Regions from separate parts of the Homo sapiens genome. Here all the other regions are linked to region 2. Evidence: promoter capture Hi-C in human tissues and cell types (Jung and others, 2019). All regions are on one chromosome and are shown on one strand. Each heading gives the region's core, a stretch centred on a gene start or on the middle of the fragment in contact. The rest is flanking DNA. Distances are from core to core; before and after follow the strand shown.

Region 1 (4,362 bases), core at 734-3,233, 450 kb before region 2:
AAATGGTACTTAGCCATTTCTAAGACAATGGGTTAAGCCACTTGCTGAGCCCCCCCTCCCCCTCCCCCCGGCCACGGCCTTATCCATTAAACACATAGTTTTGAGTCCTTTTTACAGCTAAATAAAACCGCCACATCTCATTGGGACAAAGTTATTCAGAGACACAGAAACAATGGCTCCTGCCAACCACAGACCATGCACAGCATGCACAGGGGTCTTTACCTTTATAGTCCCAGAAGGGACTGGGAGAGGGTTGGAGGGCATGGAGGATATCAGCCTATGAAATACCAACTGCAGCAGCCCCAGCTCCTATTATGAAACAATCCACTGTTCTCTCTTCCTCAAGTCTTATCGGAAGCAAGAATATTATTTTTCATTGGCTCATTTACCCTAAGGTCCCATGAGAGGGAAGATAATCTGTGATTATTGGCTTGATCTCTGTACCCTACTTAGGGACACAAGTTTAATAAATCAGAGCATTTTTCTAGTTGGGTCAGATTGGCCAGGGTAAAATGAACATTTGCTTCAGGACACATTTTAGGCTAAACCATTCTCTGTATCTTCGTTTTCTGTAAATATACTTTCAGGGGTGAGTAACAAAAACTTCAACTTGAACTGGATTAAAAAATAAAGAATTTGGCAGGGTGTGGTGGCTCATGCTTGTAATCCCAGCACTTTGGGAGGCCGAGGTGGGAGGACTGCTTGAGCCTAGGAGTTCGGGACCAGCCTGGGCAACATAGGGAGACCACCATCCCTGCAAAAAATTGAAAAATTATCTGTGTGTGGTGGTGCACATCTGTGATCCCAGCTACTTGGGAGGCTGAGGTGGGAGTTTCGGCTGAGCCCAAGAGGTTGACGCTGCAGTAAGCCGTGATCATACTACTGCACTCCAGGCAGAGTAAGACCCTGTCTCAAAAAGAAGTAAATAAAAATAAATTTACATTGTTGCAGAACAGGACATGCAGGGGCTACACAGGCATCAAGGCTGGCTGATTCCACAGAGCAAGAATGTCAACAAGGATCCAGCTTATTTTTGCCTCTTCACCCCACCATCTTTTATGTCAGCCTCGTCCTCAGGGAAGTAGGATGCAACAGTTCCAGCTGGACACGACAATACTCACAGGAAGACGAAAGAGACTCTTATTGCTGCTGTATCGTGGGAACCTTGTCCCCGATGCCCATCAGGTTTCACCCTCCCTCCATGCTTCATTGGTTCCTTAATTGGATACTGGCAAGGAAAATGAAATTAAATTACCCTTGGCCATCAATGCCACCCCCAAGCTAGAGATGGGGTCAGTGTCACCTGAGGCACCTAGCTGAGTGAAGAAGGCATGGAGTGCTGAACAAATTGGGGTTCTTCTAGTGTGGAAGTCAGGGGAGTGGATGCTGGCTGGGTAGCTTACATTTAGTTGCAGGAAACAGAAAACCTGACTTACAAGTGGCTTAAGCCAAAAAATTATTTCTCTCTCATAATATAAATTATTGCCCTAGCTCGCTGCTGGCACAGATTCAGTGGCTTGATGATGTCATGGTCAGCAACGTGGTGAGGCTCTTGACCTTTCCCTCATGCTTGTGACCTTGTGGTTCCAAGGTGGGCTTCAAGTTCATACATCATGTCTGGATTCAAAGCAGGAAAAAGGGGAAAAGGGGTATGGGCTGTATACAACGCTACGTAAAATGTGCTGGAATCTGAGGGGCATATGCAAAAGTAGATTTAATTTCTCTTCCTTACAAGGGTCAACTATTTACATGGGAAGGAAAAACATACCCCGCAACTACAACCTGATGTCAGTACCAAGAGCAGTATGCAAACGACTATTACGGGCGCTCAGAAGCATCACAATGGAAGGGAAGTTGCAGCTGCCTATACCCACACCCACATCTTGTCTACCTGCCTGCTGCGTCACAGCCTGGCTGCATTACTGGGCTCACTTCAGTTCCAAGAAAGCTTCCAGAAATCATGGCAGGCACACCTGCAGTGAGCAGATCTGTGTCTACTTGTCCTTTAAGTGGACACCACTTTTCTGTTCAGAGCACAGATCAATGTGTCAGACAGAGCTCTTGGATGACAATATTGTCCTGGCAGGGATCCAGAGCGGCTGGGGATAGAGAATATTAAATGGGTCTGGTGCAGAACAGTTGAGGTGTGACTGGATGTGACAGAGGACAGCACCTCTTTGACAATGACATTATGTGAGTTTGGGTGGGCTCTCAGCTCAGGTTTCAGATGGCCAGGCATCTGTTGCTGGCCGCCATTCTGTTGACATTTTACATTTTGTGACCATAAATTAACTTTGGAAGAAGTTGATAGACAAGTAGGTCATTATTTGGGTGTTCCTGTGTTTCTCATAACATTTTAAATTCAGTCAGGGCAGAAAATATATATGTCTTTCCTTTATACCATTACCCTAATCCCTGGCACATGGTGGGTTTCCTCTTGACTTTAGTGGAACGTGCCTGGACCTTAACAATCCCAACACCCCACCTTCCCCGCAACCCTGTCTTCTTCCCCATCTCTCCAGCTGGCTTCCTGCCTTGTTTTCTCCTCACATAGATTTAACAGATGCTCTGAGCCCCGCAGTGCACTTCAGTTCTATTCTCTGCACTCGCCATGGCACTTGGCACCATTAACTGCAGCTCTCTCTGCCTTGACATCTGCACCCCACTCTCCCCTGTGTGTTTTTTCTTTGGGGGTTTCTTATCAGGCGCCTCTTCTTTAAATGCTTGTTTTCCTTTGAGCCCTGTCCAAAGCTCTAGGTTCCATTTTCCACTTTCTACGTTCTATCTGGTCCTTCATTCAAATTTACAGCTCACATCTCTGCTTTTGCCTCTAGCCCAGATCTCTCTCTCTCTCTCTCTCTCTCTCTCTCTCTCTGTCTTTCAAACCTTACACAACTTGAGACATCTTCACTCACATATCCTGCAGGTACACCGAACTCAACATGGTCAATACAGGAGACAGTCTCTCACCCCAAAATGGAATTTCTCTCTTTTTAAAGGAAACCAGCATTCATAAGCCAGAAGCCAGTGAGTCATCCCAGAATCCCCCATGTATAGATTGCATGTGTCAGTCATACTGCAATTATTATTATCATTAGTTATTATTATTAGTTTGAGACAGGGTCTTGCTCTGTTGGCCAGGCTGGAATGCAGTGACACAATCATTGCAGCCACCAACTTCTAGCCTCAAGCAATCCTCCTGCCTTAGCTTCCCAAAGTGCCGGGGTTACAGGCAGGAGCCACTGTGCCTGGTCTACGCTTATTTTGAATCCTGCTTTTCTGCTAAGAATATCCTAATTTTTTTATATTGTTAAATATTTATTGTATTATTATGAAAAATGTTTTTGTTCCTTCTTAAACAACAGATGGCTATGGATGGGAGATAATTTGATAAATACAGAAAGCATAAAGAGTAAATAACAATTATAATCCCACTCCTCAGAAGTACCGTTATTAATATTTTACAAGTTTATTATACTCTCTAAAATGCATTTTCCATAACTGAACTACATTTTATACTGCTGCAGATTCCTTCAGGCATTATGAAATTAGAAACATTTTCTTGTGCAATTTAAAATATTTCCCAAATAACTTGTAATAATTGCATAAAACTCCATTTTATGGTTATTCCATAGTTTATTCAACTACTCCTCAAACGTTGGACTTTCAGGCTGTTTCCAATTTGTTACAAGTTGTTGCAAATAACATCCTTATGTATACATGTCTGTGTTTCATAATGTAAATTTCTGGTAGTGGAATTAATCTGTCAAATTATGTGAATATTTAAAAGACATTTGATATATATTGTCAAAATAGATGGATGCCTTCCAGAAAGTTTTTATCAGTTTGTCCTCCCACCGCATAGAAGAAGGTATTTCTCACTGAACTCTCTCCCCCAACACTAGGAAGTTACTATCCGACTTACAAATCTTTAAAAAAAAAATCCCATCTGACCATTGCTTTAATTTTTGTTTTTCACTTAAAATGTGATTGAAGACTTCAGCATTTTTAAATTGTCATTTATAAATTGGCTTTATATAATAAATTATTTATGCCCTTTGGGATATTACTTTTTATAGAACTGTTAAGCATTTTCCATAATGATTTATATAAGTTCTCAATATTGGAACATTAACTTTTATTAATATTTTTCGCAAATGTTTTCTTAGCTTAGTGTTTACTCTTTAATTTTCTTAATGATTATTTTTATATATAGGAGATTTTAATGGTTATGTAGTCAACCCAATATTTTCCTTTATGGTTTCTTCTATTGATTTTAACCTTAGAAAGTGCCTCTCTATCCATAAATCTCTTCTATTGATTTTAACCTTAGAAAAGGCCTCTCCATCCATAAATCAAATA
Region 2 (4,962 bases), core at 2,352-4,851:
ATGTGAACGAACATCTAGCATGGTCTCTAGCATGCAGAACATGCTCCAAATTTGAGAGCTAAGTTTGTTTATCATTTGTTAGCATCCCTCCTCTCCATTCCTTGCTCTTCACAAGCCCCAGCCCAAAATATCACTTGGAGTTCAGTAGAAGTGAGCAATGGATAAGATTTAGAAGCATAGTTAGAATGGATCCAGAAAAAAATAAATGTTCCTTTTTCCTTCTTTTCCCCTTCCTAGATCCCCACCATAAGCATACATTTCTTGTATTAGTCTGTTCTCATGCTGCTAATAAAGACATACCTGAGACTGGGTAATTTATAAAGGAAAGAGGTCCAACTGACTCACAGTTCCACATGGCTGGGGAGGCCTCACAATAATGGCAGAAGGTGGATGAGGAGCAGTCACGTCTTACATGGCAGCAGGCAAGAGAGAACTTGTGTAGGGGAACTCTCCTTTATAAAACCATCAGATGTTGTGAGACTTATTCACTATCACAGAACAGCATGGGAAAGACCTGCCCCCATGATTAATTACATTTCATCAGTTCCCTCCCATGACCACATGGGAATTATAGGAGCTACATTCAAGATGAGACTTGGGTGGGGACAGAACCAAACCATATCACTTGTTTTACATTTAAAGTCTTTTAAAATAATTATTACATATACAACATTGAAAATATCAGAAACCAAGGAGATATTTTTCTGCCATCCCTTCTCAAGTCTAAGTGAATGTTTTCATTTGCCTATGTCAGCTTCTGAGCCTTGTCCATGAGAATCTATGATTTTTATGTTTATATTGCCATAATATAATTATATATTTAAAATAGTCATCCACATGATGTCATATATTTTCAGAAGATTTGTCCTATAACCCAATTAAGCAGCCTGGTACAGCTCTGTAGATAATGGAGGTAATTTTACCACTAACTTAGCCTAAGATATTTTCATTAAAGGTTTCCCTTTTAAGGAAAAAATGTACTTAGCCTGGTTACTCTGAAAGCTGATATAAAAATGTATAAGCCTGTAGAGGTCACACGACATGATGTTTGCCTTTCCTTATCTGTTGTATGCCCCTCAGTGCCCACATGCTTCATCCCCTCACCCCCATGCTTGGCACAGAGTAGGAGCGCAAAAACTATTTGACGCATGAACAAATGATACTTTTCTTGGTTGTATGGTGAAATTACAAAATAGAATTTCTCGGGAACTGGGACAGAAGACTCCAAAGTTAGGCCTGAGAACAGGGTAGGGTGGACACCAGCAAAGCAATCAGGAAAGGCAACCGGAAACCCCATCGTAAAGGCCAGCTACAGTGGCTGAGAGGAAACGTGTGGTTTCCTGAATTGCACTTGTTCAAAACCTTCAACCTTAAAGCATGATGTATGTAAACCTTATCAAGGACCCACAGCTGGCCCAACAGTCACACTTTGGGGTTGTTTTCTTTAAAAGGTATTTGTAATCTTAGGGTTCCTAGGATAAATACGGAGTTGTAAGCCACTGTAGCATGAAAATAAAGCTGCAAAGAATTGAAGTAGGTATGCTTCAGAAGAACAACCCATGCAATATTTTTAGAGGAAGGATTCTTAAGCTAGTGTCCATTGGGTCTCCTCTGGGTACCATAGAAGGGCTTCAGGAAATGGTGAACAGCCTGAGATTGATGTAAAGTGTGTGTGTGTGTGTCTGCGTGTGTGTCTGTGTGTGTGTGCCTGTGTGTGTGTGTGTGTCTGTCTGTCTATGGAGGAGACCACAGCTTTCATCAAATTCTCATGTCTTTTGGTTATGGGGCCTGCTCTTCCTTTCACTTCATTAAGTCGAGTGGGGCTCTTCTAAACCCATTCTTATGTGCTAGGGGCTAGAGATGGGAATGAGAGAGAGTAGGTAGAAGACAAGGGAACTAACTCTATACAAGGCCTTCTATTGAGTCAATATAAGTGAAAGGCTTAGAGAGTGTCCAACCTGCATCAGGACCAATAAATATTAGCTCTTATTATTATTATTACACTATGCCAAAGCACTTCAAGTTTTCTCAACCTCACAACAACCCCACAAGTTCAGCATAAGTCTCATATTCCATTAGGTTGAACAACTAACCCAGGGTCACACAGCCAGTGGTGGAGTTCAGAACTATCTAATTCCAAGCTTAGATTCTTCTTTTCCACCCTGTGGCCTGAATTACTGGCCAGACTTTCAGTCTGGAGGCAGCCTCTCTGTCTACCCTTCAGGCTTTCACATCTAAATCCCAAGGGTCTTGCTCTTTCCCTGAGTCTGTCCATCAGAACTGGCATGAGGCCTAAAAATGAGCCGTTTCAAGCCCAGGCATCATCTACTCACTTACATAACAAAACCTTAGTCATCCCACTGAGATTCCACACTCAAAGCCAATTTCTCTCACAGGGCATCGAATGCTAGTTAAAGATATAAAATCACGCTTATCACAATTAACTCCCTTGCCTTTATGATGCAGCCAAGTCAAAGCCCAAACAGGAATAAATTTTTTCTAGTAGCCACAAATCAGAGGAGTGAGAAAGCTCTATGCCAAATCTACCATTTTCTGATTTCAAAATCCATGCTAAAAACTGCAGTTAAACATCAGCTACCAAAACACCCTTCTATCAAATAAGAATCATGGTGATTGCATGAATTGAGCACTTTCTATGTACTTGCTCTTTACGTGTTATTTCTATGCCTCAGAAGAGCCAAGCAGGCCAGATAGATGTTACTGCTTGAGAGGCTAAGCAAGTCCCATAAGGTCACACACACAGTGAGGAGCAGAACCTGGACTCAAACCCAGGCCTATCTGATGACAGCAACAGTGCTGCTAACCATGCCCTTCCCCCCAGCTCTCTACAGTCAATGTGATTCATGGCACCCAGGACCAACACCGGCTCTTGGCTTTCCCACAAACCACTTCCCTGAAATCTGGACAACTTCTTGGGAGGAGGAGTCATGGGAACAGGACAGATGAACTCCAAAATAGAAGATCGGGTGAGAGGTCCGGCTCTGCTACTTCTGTAGCTCTGTCACCACGGGCAGATCACTTAACTTTCCAAGGCCTCAGTTTCCTCGCCTATGCAATGGAGATGACCGTGAATGCCCCAAATTGCGCTGATCTAGTAGAGAAGAGGAGCTAAGGCTCAGGGGCTTTCCAGACGTGAGTTATCTTTACCTTTCCTTGACTAGCTAATTCAAGACAACTAGGTAGAAGCCCTTTCTCAGCCTCCCCTCTTCGCTCATCTTTCGAGTTCTTGGCCACCCCAGTTCAAACACCAGCACCATTGCCCTCCTCTCAGGTGGCTGCTGCTTAATTTCCCCTCCACTTTAGTAGTTCTTCTCTTGCCTCGCTAGAAGGACTGGTGTTGGGTGCTTGGAATTCTGGCTATTTTCCTCCTGCCGTTCCGACTCGGCACCAGAGTCTGTCTCTACTGAGAACGCAGCGCGTCAGGGCCGAGCTCTTCACTGGCCTGCTCCGCGCTCTTCAATGCCAGCGCCAGGCGCTCACCCTGCAGAGCGTCCCGCCTCTCAAAGAGGGGTGTGACCCGCGAGTTTAGATAGGAGGTTCCTGCCGTGGGGAACACCCCGCCGCCCTCGGAGCTTTTTCTGTGGCGCAGCTTCTCCGCCCGAGCCGCGCGCGGAGCTGCCGGGGGCTCCTTAGCACCCGGGCGCCGGGGCCCTCGCCCTTCCGCAGCCTTCACTCCAGCCCTCTGCTCCCGCACGCCATGAAGTCGCCGTTCTACCGCTGCCAGAACACCACCTCTGTGGAAAAAGGCAACTCGGCGGTGATGGGCGGGGTGCTCTTCAGCACCGGCCTCCTGGGCAACCTGCTGGCCCTGGGGCTGCTGGCGCGCTCGGGGCTGGGGTGGTGCTCGCGGCGTCCACTGCGCCCGCTGCCCTCGGTCTTCTACATGCTGGTGTGTGGCCTGACGGTCACCGACTTGCTGGGCAAGTGCCTCCTAAGCCCGGTGGTGCTGGCTGCCTACGCTCAGAACCGGAGTCTGCGGGTGCTTGCGCCCGCATTGGACAACTCGTTGTGCCAAGCCTTCGCCTTCTTCATGTCCTTCTTTGGGCTCTCCTCGACACTGCAACTCCTGGCCATGGCACTGGAGTGCTGGCTCTCCCTAGGGCACCCTTTCTTCTACCGACGGCACATCACCCTGCGCCTGGGCGCACTGGTGGCCCCGGTGGTGAGCGCCTTCTCCCTGGCTTTCTGCGCGCTACCTTTCATGGGCTTCGGGAAGTTCGTGCAGTACTGCCCCGGCACCTGGTGCTTTATCCAGATGGTCCACGAGGAGGGCTCGCTGTCGGTGCTGGGGTACTCTGTGCTCTACTCCAGCCTCATGGCGCTGCTGGTCCTCGCCACCGTGCTGTGCAACCTCGGCGCCATGCGCAACCTCTATGCGATGCACCGGCGGCTGCAGCGGCACCCGCGCTCCTGCACCAGGGACTGTGCCGAGCCGCGCGCGGACGGGAGGGAAGCGTCCCCTCAGCCCCTGGAGGAGCTGGATCACCTCCTGCTGCTGGCGCTGATGACCGTGCTCTTCACTATGTGTTCTCTGCCCGTAATTGTGAGTCCCCGGGCCCCGAGGCAGCAGGGCACTGAGACTGTCCGGCCGCGGATGCGGGGCGGGAAGGGTGGAGCGGATCGGGATGGACGCGGCGCCAGGCGAGCTGCGCCCTGGGCCAGGAAGGTTTGCTGCTGAGTTCCCCAAATTGGATTCCTTCCACAGCCCCGAGATATAACTCAGTTTGCGGAGCGAAATGAGGGAAAGTTAGAGAAAGGAAGGGAAAGGCTGAGCCCGGCGGTGTCTCCCTAGCCCAGCAAAACCCTCTCCATGTGGCAGAACTCCCTCCTCTCTGCTTCCTTCTGGGGAGATCTCGAGGTCATTTTTGCGCCTTAGGAGGAGCAGAACTTAGTTTCTCCTTGGCAACAGGAGTCTTCTACTTCCCGACGGCTGGGTGATGT
Region 3 (4,567 bases), core at 649-3,148, 290 kb after region 2:
CAAAACCACCAAACTGTTTTTGCAATAACTTGCTTAATATCTGGAACCTAATCACACCCCCTTTCTCTTTTATGGGGAATTGCTGGTTGGATTGCATTGTTCTGCAGCGCTTAGGTATTTGACCCATTTCAAACAGGTTTGGGAGTGTAAGGTTGTCAATCATGTGTGTCAGCTTGTGGTATTTAAGCCATAATATTTTAAGACTTTCCCCCAAAAAAGTCCTCCTTCCCACCAAAAGAAAAGCTTGAGGAGGGGAGGAAGCAAGGTGACATCATATGCTTAATACAGACTAATATAGAATAATATTGGCCTATGCAGCTAATCCTCTCAAAGGCTTTTTTGGAGGTGATGGAATTAATGTAGTTCCAAGCAAAAGTAAAAAAAAAAAAAATGACGTATATTAAGTGTTTATATTTCCTGCATAAACCAACTCTTTTCTCCTTTAATAGGAAGTAGAATGCATAATTTTATAATCAGTCATAATGTCAGCTATTTAGCACACTAAAAACAATAGTTGAAAACAACAAAACTAATTTAACTTTTATTATTTTCCTTCTCCATCCTTTGAAAGTCCAAACAATACAATGACAAAAACGCAAACCAGTAAGCGGAAATAAGAAGCATAGGTTATCACAAATCAAATGATGCCATAGTCGTGTCACTTATTTGAGGGTGTTCTAATCTAGTTGTCGTTTAAGCTGTTATAACACTTCTACCCTTTATACTTAAACTGATACATTGTAATCTTCCTGCCACCATTTCAGATAGTGCGTTAGTGACTTCTCAACGCTGAAGCTTTTACTCCAGGTTCAGATGTTTACCTGAAAGTGACTAGCGATTTTTATGCCAGGGGCATCAGATGACTTGTTTTTTCCCTATATATTTTGATTTACAAAATAATATGAATGATTCACTGTAAAATAGTTGGTAGGCATTTCATAAAGTGGGTAAACACTCTTTTTACTTCTTGAGGTATAACATATACAATAAAGTCCACAATCTTAAATGCACACCTAGATGAAATTTTATATCTGTATACACCCATGTTACCACCACCCAGATTAAGATATAAAGCATTTTCCGTGTCCCAGAAGTTTCCCTTTTTACCCTCTCCCAGTCAGTAGCTCCCCCAGGTAAGCACAAAGTGGGTAAACACTATCCAAAAAAGGAGATATATTTAAGCTCAAAATTCTGAAGGTATGCTTATATAGCATAGAATACACGGAGTATCTAGATTGGGTCTTCAGACTTTGAGCTAATATTCCAAGCTAGTGAGGAAGAATTTAAAATCTGAAAGTCTTCCTGTTAAATGTTTGTGTAATATGCTTTTTTAAAAACGATAAAACTCTATTAACCTGAAAAATACAATTTGGAAAGAAGCTGGGATAAAGCTTTTTTCCTTTGTAATGCCTGCTAAAAAGAGTGTGAGTTGTTTGTCTATCCTTTCTTTTTATAATGAAATTAACAATTTTAGGACACAGTTGTACTTAAGAGAACAAATTGTCAATTTTTTGAAAGCCTGTTTGAAAGGAGATATCTTAACCAGAAATCATTTCTCTTTTCATTAGAGAAAATCTCCAGGAACCTGTATTTAAGAGAGTATTTTAGTTCAAATTTTTATGTCAGTTCCAGATAACTGCAAGTATACTTCCCATTGATCATTCTGAATTAATGAAGTTTTTCCTAGTGAGTTCTTCATATTATAGCAAAGTGGTAGGGAAAGCCTATGTGGTGATAAATATAAGACTTAACTGATGTTTAATTTTTTTAACCAAAAGCCCCTATAACTTTTTTGAATAGTCGTGTGTCTTGATTACCAACTCACTCTGTCTTTGCTGTATGCCGTATTAAATACCAATTCCATATTACTTTTCACTTGTTTAAAGCATTTGTTTTTTTCTGATTCTCACTAAGAGTAGCTTTAAGGACTTAGTTATAAAGAATCGTGGATCAGTATAAAAAGTAAAACAAACTCTACTACTTTGAATACATTTTGGTGGATATTCTAAAACTCATGTTTTTGAAAAGTTAAGAAATGCCTCAACCCCTTTTTTCTTTTTTTTTTTTTCTTGGTGTCTACACTTGAATGGAATTGAGATGAGGGAAAGTAGCCCTTTCTTAAACAGTTAAGCTTCTCAGTGTCTCATACTTAACCTCCTGGAAGCCTATAGTTGAGAGAGAGGGGGAAAAAAAAAAGAAAAGCCACCTTGTACACTAATCTAAAAACACATTTTGAACTTCTGGCAGGATCAGTAGGACAAGAGCTTTTCCAGAGAAGGGTTCACACTCCTGGAGTTTTACCGGAGAAGACTTCAATATTTGAAACAGACTATCTGATAAAACTGATTCTATCTACCATTAGAACATATTGAAGGACTTAAAAGGAGAATTGACAGCATCACACAATATATCCATGTAAGAAACCTGCACATGAACCTCCTGAATCTAAATTTTTTTTTTTAATGAGAGTTGATGGTATACCATCTTGGAGTGTTGTGATGCATGCCAAAATCAATGAGTTCATCTTCAACATATTGAAGTTCTTACTTTCAGTTTGGTCTTAGGAGTGCCAGTTGCTTAATCAGGATAAAGTACAGTGACTTAATTACAATGCCAAAACAGATAGGAAAATTAAATTCAAAATCTTAACTCTTACATTTATGGATGCTATTATTGTCCCTACCAGTAGATATATTCTTATATTGGTAATACTTCAAATAACATGCAAGTCAACTTACAGGTTCATTTGATTTTGTTCTGTTCTTTGATTTCCCACAAAAGTTGAAATCACATTTCTACCACCTAAAATAGAAATTCCTTGAGGATAAGAAGGAATATTTTACATATTTTTATCTCCAGCAACTAGAACAATGATGATTATATTATTGAATGACACTTTATAAAAAGGTCAAAATTTAGAAAATAGTTATCTAAAATATGGGGGTTAACTTTATTTTGATGAACATTTGAGGTAAATTATGTATTGTCTGGAATCTATTTTCTGCCTAAAAGATTTCATACAATATAGAGTTTTGTTTAATGAAACTTTTTATATCATGGCAAATGGCCCATACTAATTAAGGCTTTGCTAATTTAGTTTCAACAAATTCTACAAAATAGAAAAGTCTGTAAGATGAGTCTCATATCCTGAGTCAGTTACTGTTTACCAGAAATACTGGTTTAGTTCAATGTTTGACTTTTATCCATAACTGACTATAAACTGTTTTTGTCTGAATCTACTAAATTTTTTCACTATCTTGATCTTATTTCTCCTGAAATCATCTGTGAAGCCGAAGTTTCAGATACATACCTGTAACAAAAGACATGATTATAATGCCTTATATTTTATGAAATTGGTATTTTCAAAGCACTTTGTAACATTTGTCTTCACAACCCCCATGAAATAGAAAGAGATGTGATTTGTCCAAAATTAAATGGCTAATATGTATCAGTTGTGATACTATTGTATAGCTCAGGTGCTATGAAGTCTTATCAAGTAATTTGTTTCTATACCATGAACTTTCCTGGATACATCACTTCTTTAATAGTGCTTTTCTAACTTGCTTTCCCGTTTTTCACATGGTTTCAAACCTTTTCCACTGTCTAGCAAACTCTTTCTTCACCTTTCATCCACTGCATATGACTCTTGGTTTAAAGAAGTAGAAGCCAGGTCATCTGGCCTACCAGAGATTCAGAGAAATGCTGCAGAGAGTAGTCAGTCTTTTTCAGTGCATAATTGGGCTGGCAAGAAAAGGCCAGAAACTACCAAAAAAAAAAAAAAATGCAGAATGATAAAATATCACACAAATGTGTGTCTTGGGGGTAGGGCAGGAGTGGTTTTCAGCTGCCTCCTGTTAGCCTACTGCCCAGATTTTAATTTTGTGTGTTGAAGGTGTAGGGAGGTGTCGTTGCAGGCTGTGCCTTGCAGTGAGGTCTTATAAAAGACTTCATCCCCTCCAGCATAATGCCAGAATCCTTTAAGTGTACACCTTCAGTGGATCAGCTAGGAAAATAAGCAGGTCCTCAGAGCTAGATAGGGGGTACAAATTGGTAAATAAGTCTTCCCTGGGAATGCAAAATAAGCTCATTCTTGCACAAGTTTGAAGCCTAAATTCACATCAGTTCTGTGATTGAGAGGAGCAGACTGGGGGGTTTCAGGAGATCTAACTTGAAAACATAAAGTTATCCTTGCTTGATACTAACCTCAAGGAGCTGTAAGAAGCAGATGCAAAGCATCTGTGGAAGAATGTACTTTAAACCCAGACTTCTGACAGATAAAATTCCAAAAAACATGGGTTCAGAATAAAAAATCACACTGGGGAATTGCAGATGTCAGAATTATTAAATACATAGTACACAATAATTAATCATTTATGAATTAAACACTGTTGAAATACAAAAAATTGGCACATTTGGAAATCATTTTTTAATGAAAAAATTAAAAACTGAAATGGATGGTTAAACAGATTAAACACAGTTAAAAAGAAATAAGTGAACTAGAAGATCTTAGGAAAAAAAATCACTCGGGATATAGCCCAGAGAAATAAAAGATGGAAGATACAACCAA

Evidence for each region. The method cuts DNA at HindIII sites, captures the fragments that hold promoters and counts their contacts. A contact is called where the count stands out against the background at its distance.
Region 1: a contact is called between a fragment that was not itself captured here and the fragment with the promoter of PTGDR in region 2, in 1 of the 25 tissues and cell types used here (mesenchymal stem cells).
Region 3: a contact is called between a fragment that was not itself captured here and the fragment with the promoter of PTGDR in region 2, in 1 of the 25 tissues and cell types used here (mesenchymal stem cells).

The regions. Positions count from the first base shown.
Region 1 is chr14:51,817,098-51,821,459 of GRCh38, forward strand. It overlaps LOC101927598 (a long non-coding RNA gene), which reads left to right. Exons shown (of 8, transcript XR_002957605.2): 5 at 952-1,185; 6 at 1,736-3,027. Among named protein-coding and RNA genes, the nearest start is that of GNG2, 41 kb to the right of the region's middle. The HindIII fragment of the contact is 6,488 bases long and covers 1-4,362 here.
Region 2 is chr14:52,264,097-52,269,058 of GRCh38, forward strand. It overlaps PTGDR (prostaglandin D2 receptor), which reads left to right and starts at 3,602. Exons shown (of 2, transcript NM_000953.3): 1 at 3,602-4,564. The coding sequence starts at 3,719. The HindIII fragment of the contact is 10,952 bases long and covers 503-4,962 here.
Region 3 is chr14:52,554,337-52,558,903 of GRCh38, forward strand. The region is part of intron 1 of GPR137C (G protein-coupled receptor 137C); the gene reads left to right. Among named protein-coding and RNA genes, the nearest start is that of GPR137C, 3.8 kb to the left of the region's middle. The HindIII fragment of the contact is 3,807 bases long and covers 1-3,802 here.